Regions from separate parts of the Homo sapiens genome. Here all the other regions are linked to region 2. Evidence: promoter capture Hi-C in human tissues and cell types (Jung and others, 2019). All regions are on one chromosome and are shown on one strand. The core of a region is centred on a gene start or on the middle of the fragment in contact, and the rest is flanking DNA. Distances in the headings are between cores, read along the strand shown. Region 1 overlaps EIF2B1 (eukaryotic translation initiation factor 2B subunit alpha). Region 2 holds the start of RILPL2 (Rab interacting lysosomal protein like 2). Region 3 overlaps MTRFR (mitochondrial translation release factor in rescue).

Region 1 (3,577 bases), core at 482-2,981, 190 kb before region 2:
AGTTCAAGACCAGCCTGGGCAACATAGTGAAACCCTGTCTCTACAAAAAATTAGAAAAATTAGCTGGGCGTGGTGGTGCTTGCCTGTAGTTCCAGCTGCCCAGGAAGCTGAGGCAGGAGTATCACGTGAGCCCAGGAATTTGAGGTTGCAGTAAGTTATGATCACACTACTGCATTCCAGCCTGGGCGATGGTGAGACCCTGTCTCAGTAAAAAAAAAAAAAAAAAAAGTGTAATTTATATTTATACAAAATTGGCTTGAATTGGAATTGGGGTTTGTCTGGTTTTTGCTTTATTTATGTGTATATGTATGTTTTATTTATGCATATATATACACACACATAATATATATACACAAATATTTTTAAAATATTATTTATATATTTACATATAAAGTATGTATGTATAAAATACGTGTATTTATATATAAATATTATATATATTTTAAAATAGAGACACATTCACTCTGTTGCCCAGGCTGTAGTGTAGTACAGTGATCATAGCTTACTGCAGTCTTGAACTCCTAGCCTGAAGCAATCTTTCCACTTCCCAAAGTGCTAGGATTACAGGCATGAGCCACTGTGGCCGGCCTGTCATTTGTTTTCATTTTAATTGAGCACATTTGACCTCAATTTATTACAATCTCTCTCTCCATTATTTAATTTAGAAAAGCTTCATGAAAGCTTTTTTTAGTTAAAATATATGTAACATAAGGCCGGGCGTAGTAGCTCACGCCTATAATCCCAGCACTTTGGGAGGCTGAGGCAGGTAGATCATCTGAGGTCAGGAGTTCGAGACCAGCCTGGCCAACATGGTGAAACCCCATATCTACTAAAAATACAAAAAATTAGCTGGGCATGGTGGCGGGTGCCTGTAATCCCAGCTACTTGGCAGGCTGACGCAGGAGAATCGCTTGAACCTGGGAGGCGGAGGTCTGCAGGCAGAGTGTTGAGTCACATGGTAACTATATATTTAACTTTCAGAAACTAATGATTTTCCACAGCAGCTGCACTACTTTACATTCCCACTAGCAAAGCACAAAGGTTCCAATTTCTCTACATCCTTGCCAACACTTGTTTTTTTAAATTTTTTTATTTTTTGAGATGGAGTTTCACTCTTGCTGTCCAGGCTGGAGTGCAATGGCACAGTCTTGGCTCACTGCAACCTCCAGTGCCCGGGTTCAAGCGAGTCTCCTGCTTCAGCCTCCCTAGTAGCTGGGATTACAGGCACCCCCCATCCCACCATGCCCAGCTAATTTTTTGTATTTTTAGTAGAGATGGGGTTTCCCTATATTGGCCAGCTGGTCTCAAACTCCTGACCTCAGGTGATCCACCCACCTCGGCCTCCCAAAGTGCTGGGATTACAGGCGTGAGCCACCACATCCAGCCTCTAGTGGCTGTTTCTATATCCTTTGAGAAACATTTATTTTTTTGATTCCAAAGTCAGAATTAGATATATCTAATATATGTATTAGATATATGTATATCTATATTATATACATAACTTTCTATTGCTGTTTTTTAATTGTTCCTTTATTGTAATTGAGACGAGGTCTCACCGTGTTGCCTAGGCTGGTCCCAAACTCATGGGTTCAGGTGATCCACCCACCTCGGCCTCCCAAAATGCTGGAATACAGGCATGCACCACTGTGCCCGGCCCGCTTTTCTGTGGCTTCTACTTCAGATGCACTCTAGAGCTCATCCATTCCATTTTCTGCCTTCCCAGATTGGAACCAACCAGATGGCTGTGTGTGCCAAAGCACAGAACAAACCTTTCTATGTGGTTGCAGAAAGTTTCAAGTTTGTCCGGCTCTTTCCACTAAACCAGCAAGACGTCCCAGATAAGTTTAAGGCAAGAGTTTTACATATTTGAAGGGGTACTAAAGTCTAAACAGAAACCTTTGGAAATTGTAGTCCTAAGAATGTTCCAGTAATTTTTTCACTTCCTATTGCTACTTTCCCCAACACTTGGAATACAAAGATAAATTGGTGATTGGACTCACACATTTGTCCCTAGAACTTCAGTCTTTCAGTCTCTTTAAGTAGCACCATAGATGGGTGGAGAGGAAGCCCGAAGCTGGTGGGTAAGTCCCAGCTTTGGGCTTAACTGAGCTCAGCTCCCATCACCACAACTTACAAACTGTGCGAGTTGAGGCAAGTCCTTTCATTTCAACCTCTGAACCGGTTTTCTTGTCTGTAAAATGGCATAGCAGTATCTGACAGGGTCATGAGGATTCTAAGATAATCTTAGCACAGTCCCTGGCACGCTGCAAGCTCTCTATTGTGACTCTCGATCTTCCCTTGAGAGGTCTGGAGAAGTTAATCCGGCATGAGAATGAGGGGACATGGGATTTAAGTTTGTTACACTACAGCTCTCAGCCAGCACACTGCCATGATCTGGCTCATGGCCACAACTCTGCCCTCGTCTCTAGTGTCCTGCATAGCTTAGTTTCTCCCATTTTCAGAGAGCAGTCTCAGGAAGTAGCACACTGATCACTCACACCAAGGCCCTACCAGGTCAGAGCACTAAATATTCAGTGCCGACTAATGTGTACTTCTCTCCTCAGTATAAGGCAGACACTCTCAAGGTCGCGCAGACTGGACAAGACCTCAAAGAGGAGCATCCGTGGGTCGACTACACTGCCCCTTCCTTAATCACTCTGCTGTTTACAGACCTGGGCGTGCTGACACCCTCAGCAGTCAGCGATGAGCTCATCAAGCTCTATCTGTAACCTGTGAGCCCTTTCCTGCCAAGGTGCAGCTTACGTAGTTGAGGCAGGGTGAGTAGCTGCTTGACACCCCAGTGAGTCAGGCCAAAACTGAGATGTGTTTAATGAAGATTTATGGAGTAAGGACTTAAAATCATACATCTTGGAGAACCTTTCTTACTCATTTCAGTCCCATCTAAAAATGTGTCAGCTATTCTAAATCCCAACTTAAATTGTTCTTACGGTTTCTAGAAACTTTCCTTTTCAGTTTCCAGAAATACAAGTTAGATAATTGGCTACTTAACTGATGAAAGATGAGCCCAAGTCCACCTGTCTTCATCCTCCCCTGCACTCCAGACTGATCTGCCTAAAGCACGCGAGATGCAGGCGAAAAGCAGCCACACCCCTCTGCCACAAATGACCAACAGCTGGTCAGGACGTTACACGCGGTGCCTTGTAAGAGGCAAGAAACACTTGCTGAATCTGCATCTGGCTTCCAGTGGTAAGCACATTCCTCAGCAGGATCAAGCCAAACAGTAAAAACTACCAAGAGAACACGAGGAAGGCAGAAACGATGTTTAGCAACAGTATTCTGCATGGTTCACTGCTTAAGAAAATGCCTTCTGGAATATTTGTAAACTGAAATTCTGTATGTGTAAGAGATGTTTAAATATGTTTGGGTCCTAAACAGCTTTTTAAAATTATACTTGGGAATAAATTCAGCATCTTTTCAAATAAACTCTATGAAAGACGCTGATGTGGTGTTGCATCAATACTGCAAGCTGACCAGGCCATCTAGGGGAAAACACTGTCCAGCTACATTTACACACTTAAGACCCAGGCAATCAGGACACCATTTATTCAACAGGAGG
Region 2 (3,961 bases), core at 524-3,023:
CTCCAGCCTGGGCAACAGAGCAAGATTCTGTCTCTAAATAAATAAATAAACAAATAAATAAAATAAAATAAAATAAAATAAAAAGAAACGACCCTCTGAAAATAGTGTGTTTTGTTAATTTGCTTTGCTTTTGTTGGTTGGTTTAATCTATGTACATTCTCCATTGAGATTCTAGTACCTCAGTGTGGAGAAAATGGATACACCTATCACAAGGAAAGCTGCCAATACATTCCTGGGAAAGACAAGCCCCGTTGCTGAGCTTTCTGCCTGAGACTATCACAAACCTCCAGTGAAACCTAAAATAACTTGAGATTTGTTGTGCCTTTTTTTTTGAGACATGATCTTACTCTGTCACCATGGTCCCACTCTGTCACAGGCACCACTCTGTGGTGAGATCTTGGCTCACTGCAGCCTCAACATCCCGGGCTCAAGTGGTCCTCCCACCTCAGCCTCCCGAGTACCTGCCACTACAGGCATGAACCACTGTGTCCAGCTACTTTTGTTTACTTTTTGTAGAGACAGGGTCTCACTATGATGCCCAAGCTAGTCTCAAATTCCTGGGCTCAAGCAATCCTCCTGCGTCAGCCTCCTGAAGTGTTGAGATTAAGGCATGAGCCACAGCGAATGACTCAAGTTTCTACGCCACTCTGCTAATATTCTCAGTAATATGGATTCCGCATATGTGTCGAATGCTTTGTGATTTTCAGACAGGGGTTTCTCTCTTGTTAATTACTCCTCCTTCTCTCACCCAAGTAGCAAGGTGTCTCCAACACCAGCAATTCCTCCCTAGCGCTGTGGAAGAAAGAATGAAGGGGCCGGGCGCGGTGGCTCACGCCTGTAATCCCAGCACTTTGGGAGGCCGAGGCAGGTGGATCACGAGGTCAGGAGATCGAGACCATCCTGGCGAACATGGTGAAACCCCGTCTCTACTAAAAATACAAAAAAATTAGCCGGGCGTGGTGGCGCGTGCCTGTAGTCCCAGCTACTCGGGAGGCTGAGGCAGGAGAATGGCGTGAACCTGGGAGGCGGAGCTTGCAGCAAGCCGAGATCGCGCCACTGCACTCCAGCCTGGGCGACACAGGGAGACTCCGTCTCAAAAAAAAAAAGAAAGAAAGAAAGAAAGAAAGAATGAAGGATTGCAGTCACGTATGTGAGTGCTTCCTAAGTGCTTGAGGTGTCGCACACATGATCTCATAAGCTCATGTTCCTCGCAGCAACCCTGCCACCTGGGTCCCGCTATTGTCCCCATTTTACAGAGGAGGAGACTGAGGCTCGGAGACGTTAAGTAACTTGCCAAGGTGACAGCGCTGGTTACGTGGAGGAGCCGAGGACCCAGCGAAGTGAGCAGGGCAGACATTCTCCATTTTATTGAGAGTCACAGCGAAGTCGGACGCCCCAGGCCCTAGTGACAATTTGCCTGGGAGTTTTCCAGATCCTCAAGCCTCGGGGACTCTGTCGCGCTGCCCCCAGCAGCTGCTTTCTGTTTGGCCGCAGGCTCCAGAAAACACCCTCAAAGAGACACCCGGATCTTCCATCACCTACGATGCAAATTCTACGGCTGGAAAGCACGAGGGTGGAAAGGAAAAAGTTGCGTTCTTTTTACCCCGCTCTGGATTGCACGGTGGAAACTCCGTCTCCACGGAAACGCACCTCCTGGCAGCGGTCGCCAGGGGCGGGGCTCAGGGCGGCTCCTCCCCGGGGCTGCAACTGTTCCCAGGCTGGGGCGATTGCCGTCACCCCTGAACTTCCCCGTTCCTCTTCTCGGCTGCCTCCTTTTCCGTTGTCCCTTCGCGCCCCAAACCACATCCTGGAGCGCACTCTCCAGCGTGGCTGGCAGCGGGGACGGTGCGCCGGGGCGCAGGCCCAAGAGTCGCGTGCGCGGCCCCTTGCACCATCCCCCCGGGCCCACCCCCGGGCCGCGCTGATTGGGCAGGTAGGGACTCTGCCCAGCGGAAAGTTTTGGGTGCCGGGAGGAAGTCTAACCTTTGGGAGACTCCAAGACAGCAGCTCCGAGGTCGGCGGGGGTCTGGGTGGCCATGGAGGAGCCCCCTGTGCGAGAAGAGGAAGAGGAGGAGGGAGAGGAGGACGAGGAGAGGGACGAGGTTGGGCCCGAGGGGGCGCTGGGCAAGAGCCCCTTCCAGCTGACCGCCGAGGACGTGTATGACATCTCCTACCTGTTGGGCCGCGAGCTTATGGCCCTGGGCAGCGACCCCCGGGTGACGCAGCTGCAGTTCAAAGTCGTCCGCGTCCTGGAGATGCTGGAGGCGCTGGTGAATGAGGGCAGCCTGGCGCTGGAGGAGCTGAAGATGGAGAGGGACCACCTCAGGAAGGAGGTGGAGGGGCTGCGGAGACAGAGCCCTCCGGCCAGCGGGGAGGTGAGTGTGGGAGCGAGGGTTCCGGGCCCACGGCGCCTGCGGGGCGTAGGAGGGCACCTACTGGCAGGGAGACGCCTTCCTTTTCTTTTCTCTTCTCTTTTCTCTTTTTTCTTTTTTTAAGAGATGGGATCTCGCTGTGTTGCCCAGGCTGGTCTCAAACTCCTGGCTCCAAGTGATCCCCCAGCCTCAGCCTCCTAGAGTGCTGGGTTTACAGGTGTGAGCCACCCTGCCTGGCCAGAATCTGTATTTCTAACGAGTTCGCAGTTAATGCTGATGCTATTGGCCCAGGGTCCACAGTTTGAGAACCTTTGACCTAGAGCAAGAAACACTTTTTTTTTCTTTTGACACAGGGTCCTGCTCTATCTCCCAGGCTAGAGTGCAGTGGTGCAAACACGGCTCACTACAGCCTTGGCCTCCTAGGCTCAAGCAATTCTCCTGCCTTGCCCTTCCAAGTAGCTGGGAGTACAGGCATGTGCCACCATGCCTGGCTAACTTTTTTGATGTTTTGTAGAGATGGGGGTCTCACCGTTACCCAGGCTGGTCTCAAACTCCTAAGCTCAAGGAATCCTCCCACCTTGGCCTCCCAAAGTGCTGGGCTTGTGGATGTGAGCCACCACACTTGGACAAGAAACACATTTTACCTAAAGAGAAATTAGTGCATATGACCACAAAAAGACATAGACAAGAAGATTCAGAGCAGCTTTAGTCTCAGCTGCCAAACTGGAAACACTCTAAATGCAACCCAATTGAGTTTTGAAATTGTGATATATGGAATACTATGCAACAGAGAAAAAGAACGGGGTGCTGATACACACAGCAGTGTGAATGAATCTCACAGATGTAACATTGAGAGAAAGAAGCCAGGCACTAAAGAGAAACTACTGTAGATTTTTTTTTTTTTTGAGTCAGAATCTTGCTCTGTTGCTCAGACTGTAGTGCAGTGGCGTGACCTCGACTCACTGCAACCTCCACCTCCTGGATTCAAGCGATTCTCCTGCCTCAGCCTCCTGAGCAGCTGGGATTGCAAGCGTGTGCCACCACGCGTGGCTATTTTTTTTTTTTCTTTTTTGGTAGAGACGGGGTTTCACCATGTTGGCCAGGCTGGTCTCAAACTCCTGGCCTCAAGTGACCCACCCACCTCAGCCTTCCAAAGTGCTGGGATTACAGGCCTGAGCCACAGCACCCAGCCCTACTGTACATTTAAATAAAATTCATGAACAGGCAAAATAATTTATAGTTATAGAAGGCAAACTGGTGGTGGGGGGAAAAGAAGGGAAATTGATAGAGAGCTAGAAGTGTCCCATATCTTAATCAGGGTATGGATATAGGGATCTACACATATGTTAAAAATCATCTGGCTGGGTGCTGTGACTCACGCCTGTAATCCCAGCACTTTGGGAGGCCAAGGCGGGCAGATCACAAGGTCAGGAATTTGAGACCAGCCTGGCCAACATGGTGAAACTCTATCTCTACTAAAACTACAGAAAAAAATTAGCCGGGCGTGGTGGCGGGTGCCTGTAATCCCAGCTACTCGGGAGGCTGAGGCCGGAGAATTGCTTGAAACCGGAAGGCAGAGGTTGCAGTGA
Region 3 (3,509 bases), core at 533-3,032, 200 kb after region 2:
AAGAATTAAACAAATACTGATTTGAGCTAGCAGAGATGGTGACATGGAAACAAGGAGATTGGGAAACTGGGTCATCTGGGGGAAAAAAAAATAAAAAATGTCACCTCTGTTGTGTTAATGTTCTAGAACAGTGGTGTCCAATAGAAACTAACGCTACTGGGCTGGGCGCGGTAGCTCACGCCTGTAATCCCAGCACTTTGGGAGGCCAAGGCGGGCAGATCATGAGGTCAGGAGATCGAGACCATCCTGGCTAACACGGTGAAACCCCGTCTCTACTAAAAATACAAAAAATTAGCTGGGCATGGTTGCACGTAGCTGTAGTCCCAGCTACTTGGGAGGCTGAGGCAGGAGAATCGCTTGAACCTGGGAGGTGGAGATTGCGGTGAGCCGAGATTGCGCCATTGCACTCTAGCCTGGCAACAGAGTGAAACTCTGTCTCAAAAAAACAAACAAAAAAACAAAACTAATGCTACCCACATGTGAAATTCTAAATTTTCTAGTAGTTACATTAGAAATAATAAATGATGAAATGTATATTTAACCCAATATATCAAAACTATTATTTCCACACGTGATCAACGTTTTATTATTTTGAGACCAGTCTGGCTCCATCACCCAGGCTGGAGTATAGTGGCGCCATCTCAGCTCACTGCAATCTCTGCCTTCCAGGCTCTAGCCATCCTCTCACCGCAGCCTCCTGAGTAGTTGGAACTACAGGCATGTACCAGCATGCCTGGCTAATTTTTGGATTTTTTGTAGAGACGGGGTTTCACCATGTTGCTGTGGCTGGTCTGGAACTCAAACTCAAGCGATCTGCCTTCCTCAGCCTTCCAAAGTGCTGGGATTACAGGTGTGAGCCACTGCACCCAGCCAATATTTTAAAATTGAGATATTCTTTTTTCCCCCTAAATATGAAGGCTTCAAATTCTAGGTTATGGTCATACTTACAGAACATCTCAGTTTGGGCCACATGTGCTGGTGGCTACTTTATGGGACAATGTAGCTCTAGAATCTTGCTACCCAAAGTGTGGTCCACATAGTGGCAAAAGCACCACGTGGAGGATGGTTAGGAATGAAGATTTCAGGCCCTGCTCTGACCTACCAAATGAGAACCTGCAGCCTAACAAGATCCTCAGGTGATGCAGAGGCACATAAAATTTGACAAGCATTGTTCCAGAACACAGGAATCAGCAAGTTCTTCTGATTGCTAGGACAGACACTTTTAAAAGCTTTTCTTTTTCTTTTCTAAAAAAGTAGAGATGGGGTTTCATCATGTTGCCCAGTCTGGTCTCAAACTCCTGAGCTCAAGCAATCTGCCTGCCTCGGTCTCAAAAAGTGCTGGGATTACAGTCATGAGCCACCATGCCCAGCATGTTTCTTATTTATATGACATTTAAGAAACTGAGACAAGAATTCAGGAGGGCTGATTACCTGCTTATTCCGTCTTGTCTCTTCCTTAAGAAGGAGATGAAACCATAGGTCTCAAAACAATGACCTAATAAACAGTTAAGGGCCAAACAACATTGAGCTTAAACAGACCAACGTGCAATGTTGCTGCTTTGAAAAGACAAAACGGCCAGCAGGTGGTGCCAGAAGCTAAGTGAGGGGAAAATGATTTTCTGACAAATGCTTAATAATAATAATTCATGTTTCAAAAATGTGTTTTGGGGCTGGGTGTGGTGGCTCATGACTGTAATCCTAGCACTTTGGGAGGCTGAGGGTGGATTGCCTGAGCTCAGGAGTTCCAGACCAGCCTGGGCAACATGGTGAAACCCCCTCTGTACTAAAATACAAAAAATTAGCCAGATGTGGTGGTGTGCACCTGTAGTCCCGGCTACTCGGGAGGCTGCAGCAGAATAATGGATTCAACCTGGCAGGCAGAGGTTGCAGTGGGCTGAGGTCACACCACTGCACTCCACCCTGGGTGACAGAGTGAGACTCCGTCTCAAAAAAAAAAAAAGTGTTTTGGTGCTGTCTGTAAAATGGTAGTTAAAAAGAAAGTAGCATTTCCCTGTCTTTCACATCCTCCTGTTAGCTCATCCTCCTGCTGTAGGTATCTGAAATCCTTAAGGGCTGAAACCTCTCAAATGGAACCAGTGAGTATTGCTGGTAAGGCTTGAAACAGACCATGCCATTTCCTAGACTTGGGGTTTTACGCTGAAGATAAAGCACCCTTCACTCACAGTAAGTGTTTGCAGATAGTTATTTCTCAAACAAGGAAAGCATAATAGATTGAGCAGGAAATGCAGAGCTGTAGTCTTTGATTTTGGCGGACGGGAGGAAAAAGAGACTACTCTAGGTCTGGTCTAAATTTAACAGGCTTAATGCTTGAATGCTTAATGCTGCAGAATTCAAGAGATAGCTAATGAAGTAAAGAGGAAAACATTCACTTCACACAATCCCAACATCTCGTTCATTTTTATTTTATTTTTGAGCCGGAGTTTCGCTTGTCACCCAGGCTAGAGTGCAATGGCGTGATCTTGGCTCACTGCAACCTCTGCCTCCCAGGTTCAAGTGATTCTCCTGTCTCAGCCTCCTGAGTATCTGGGACTACAGGCACCTGCCATCATGCCCGGCTAATTTTGTATTTTTAGTAGAGGCGGGGGTTTCTCCTGACATCAGGTGATGCGCCTGCCTTGGCCTCCCGTAGTCCTGGGATTACAGGCGTGAGCCACAGTGCCTGGCCCCGTTTATTTTTTTTTAAGCAGAAAACTTTGAATCCACAGAATTACACCTGTGCTATTTGTGTGTATCATATTTCTTCTATTTTTTTTTTTAGCCGGAGTCTCACTCTGTCACCCAGCCTGGACTGCAGTGGCGCAATCTCAGCTCACTGCAACCTCCGCCTTCCAGATTCAAGCAATTCTCCTGCCTCAGCCTCCCAAGTAGCTGGGACTACAGGCGCATGCCGCCACGCTTGGCTAATTTTTTGTATTTTTAGTAGAGATGGGGATTCACCGTGTTTCTCAGGCTGGTGTTGAACTCCTGACCTCAGGCGATCCGCCCGCCTCGGCCTCTCAAAGTGCTGAGAGGTGTGAGCCACCGCGCCCGGCCCCATATTTGTTCTATTTATGGCATCTAACGGGAACTTTATAATTTATCAACTACACTATTAAAACAGAAACACATTAAAAAAGCAGGAATAACAACACTGTATATTTTCTTCCAAAAGTCTCAAAGCCTATATTTCTATTAACGATGCCTTGTGTTTGTTTAGGACTTAAACATATACAAACCAAAGCAGTTTCTTCTTCTTTTTTTTTTTTTTGAGACAGGGTCTCCCTCTGTCACCCAAGTGGAGTGCAGTGGCATAAAAATGGCTCAGTGCAGCCTTGACCTCCTGGGCTCAAGCAAGCTTCTTTGCCTCAGCCTCCCCAGTAGCTGGGGCCACAGGTGTGTACCACCATACCTGGCTAGTTTTTAATTTTTTGTAGAGATGGGGTCTTGCCATGTTGCCCAGGCAGGTCTCGAACTCATGGGCTCAAGCAATCCTCCTGCCTCAGCCTCCC

What was found. The method cuts DNA at HindIII sites, captures the fragments that hold promoters and counts their contacts. A contact is called where the count stands out against the background at its distance.
Region 1: a contact is called between a fragment that was not itself captured here and the fragment with the promoter of RILPL2 in region 2, in 3 of the 25 tissues and cell types used here (IMR-90 fibroblasts, aorta and dorsolateral prefrontal cortex).
Region 3: a fragment that was not itself captured here is called in contact with the fragment with the promoter of RILPL2 in region 2 in 1 of the 25 tissues and cell types used here (dorsolateral prefrontal cortex).

Annotation. Positions count from the first base shown.
Region 1 is chr12:123,620,908-123,624,484 of GRCh38, reverse strand. It overlaps EIF2B1 (eukaryotic translation initiation factor 2B subunit alpha), which reads left to right. Exons shown (of 9, transcript NM_001414.4): 8 at 1,724-1,849; 9 at 2,565-3,577. The coding sequence ends at 2,729. DDX55 (DEAD-box helicase 55) reads right to left here. Exons shown (of 14, transcript NM_020936.3): 14 at 3,542-3,577. Among named protein-coding and RNA genes, the nearest start is that of SNORA9B, 6.0 kb to the right of the region's middle. RefSeq lists an enhancer at 1,909-3,108. The HindIII fragment of the contact is 7,939 bases long and covers 1-3,577 here.
Region 2 is chr12:123,434,496-123,438,456 of GRCh38, reverse strand. It overlaps RILPL2 (Rab interacting lysosomal protein like 2), which reads left to right and starts at 1,773. Exons shown (of 4, transcript NM_145058.3): 1 at 1,773-2,375. The coding sequence starts at 2,037. RefSeq lists a silencer at 1,767-2,026 and an enhancer at 1,868-2,797. The HindIII fragment of the contact is 18,752 bases long and covers 1-3,961 here.
Region 3 is chr12:123,236,352-123,239,860 of GRCh38, reverse strand. The region is part of intron 1 of MTRFR (mitochondrial translation release factor in rescue); the gene reads right to left. It also overlaps a transcript of MPHOSPH9 not described here. Among named protein-coding and RNA genes, the nearest start is that of MTRFR, 4.7 kb to the right of the region's middle. RefSeq lists enhancers at 1,487-1,686, 2,297-2,346. The HindIII fragment of the contact is 6,290 bases long and covers 1-3,509 here.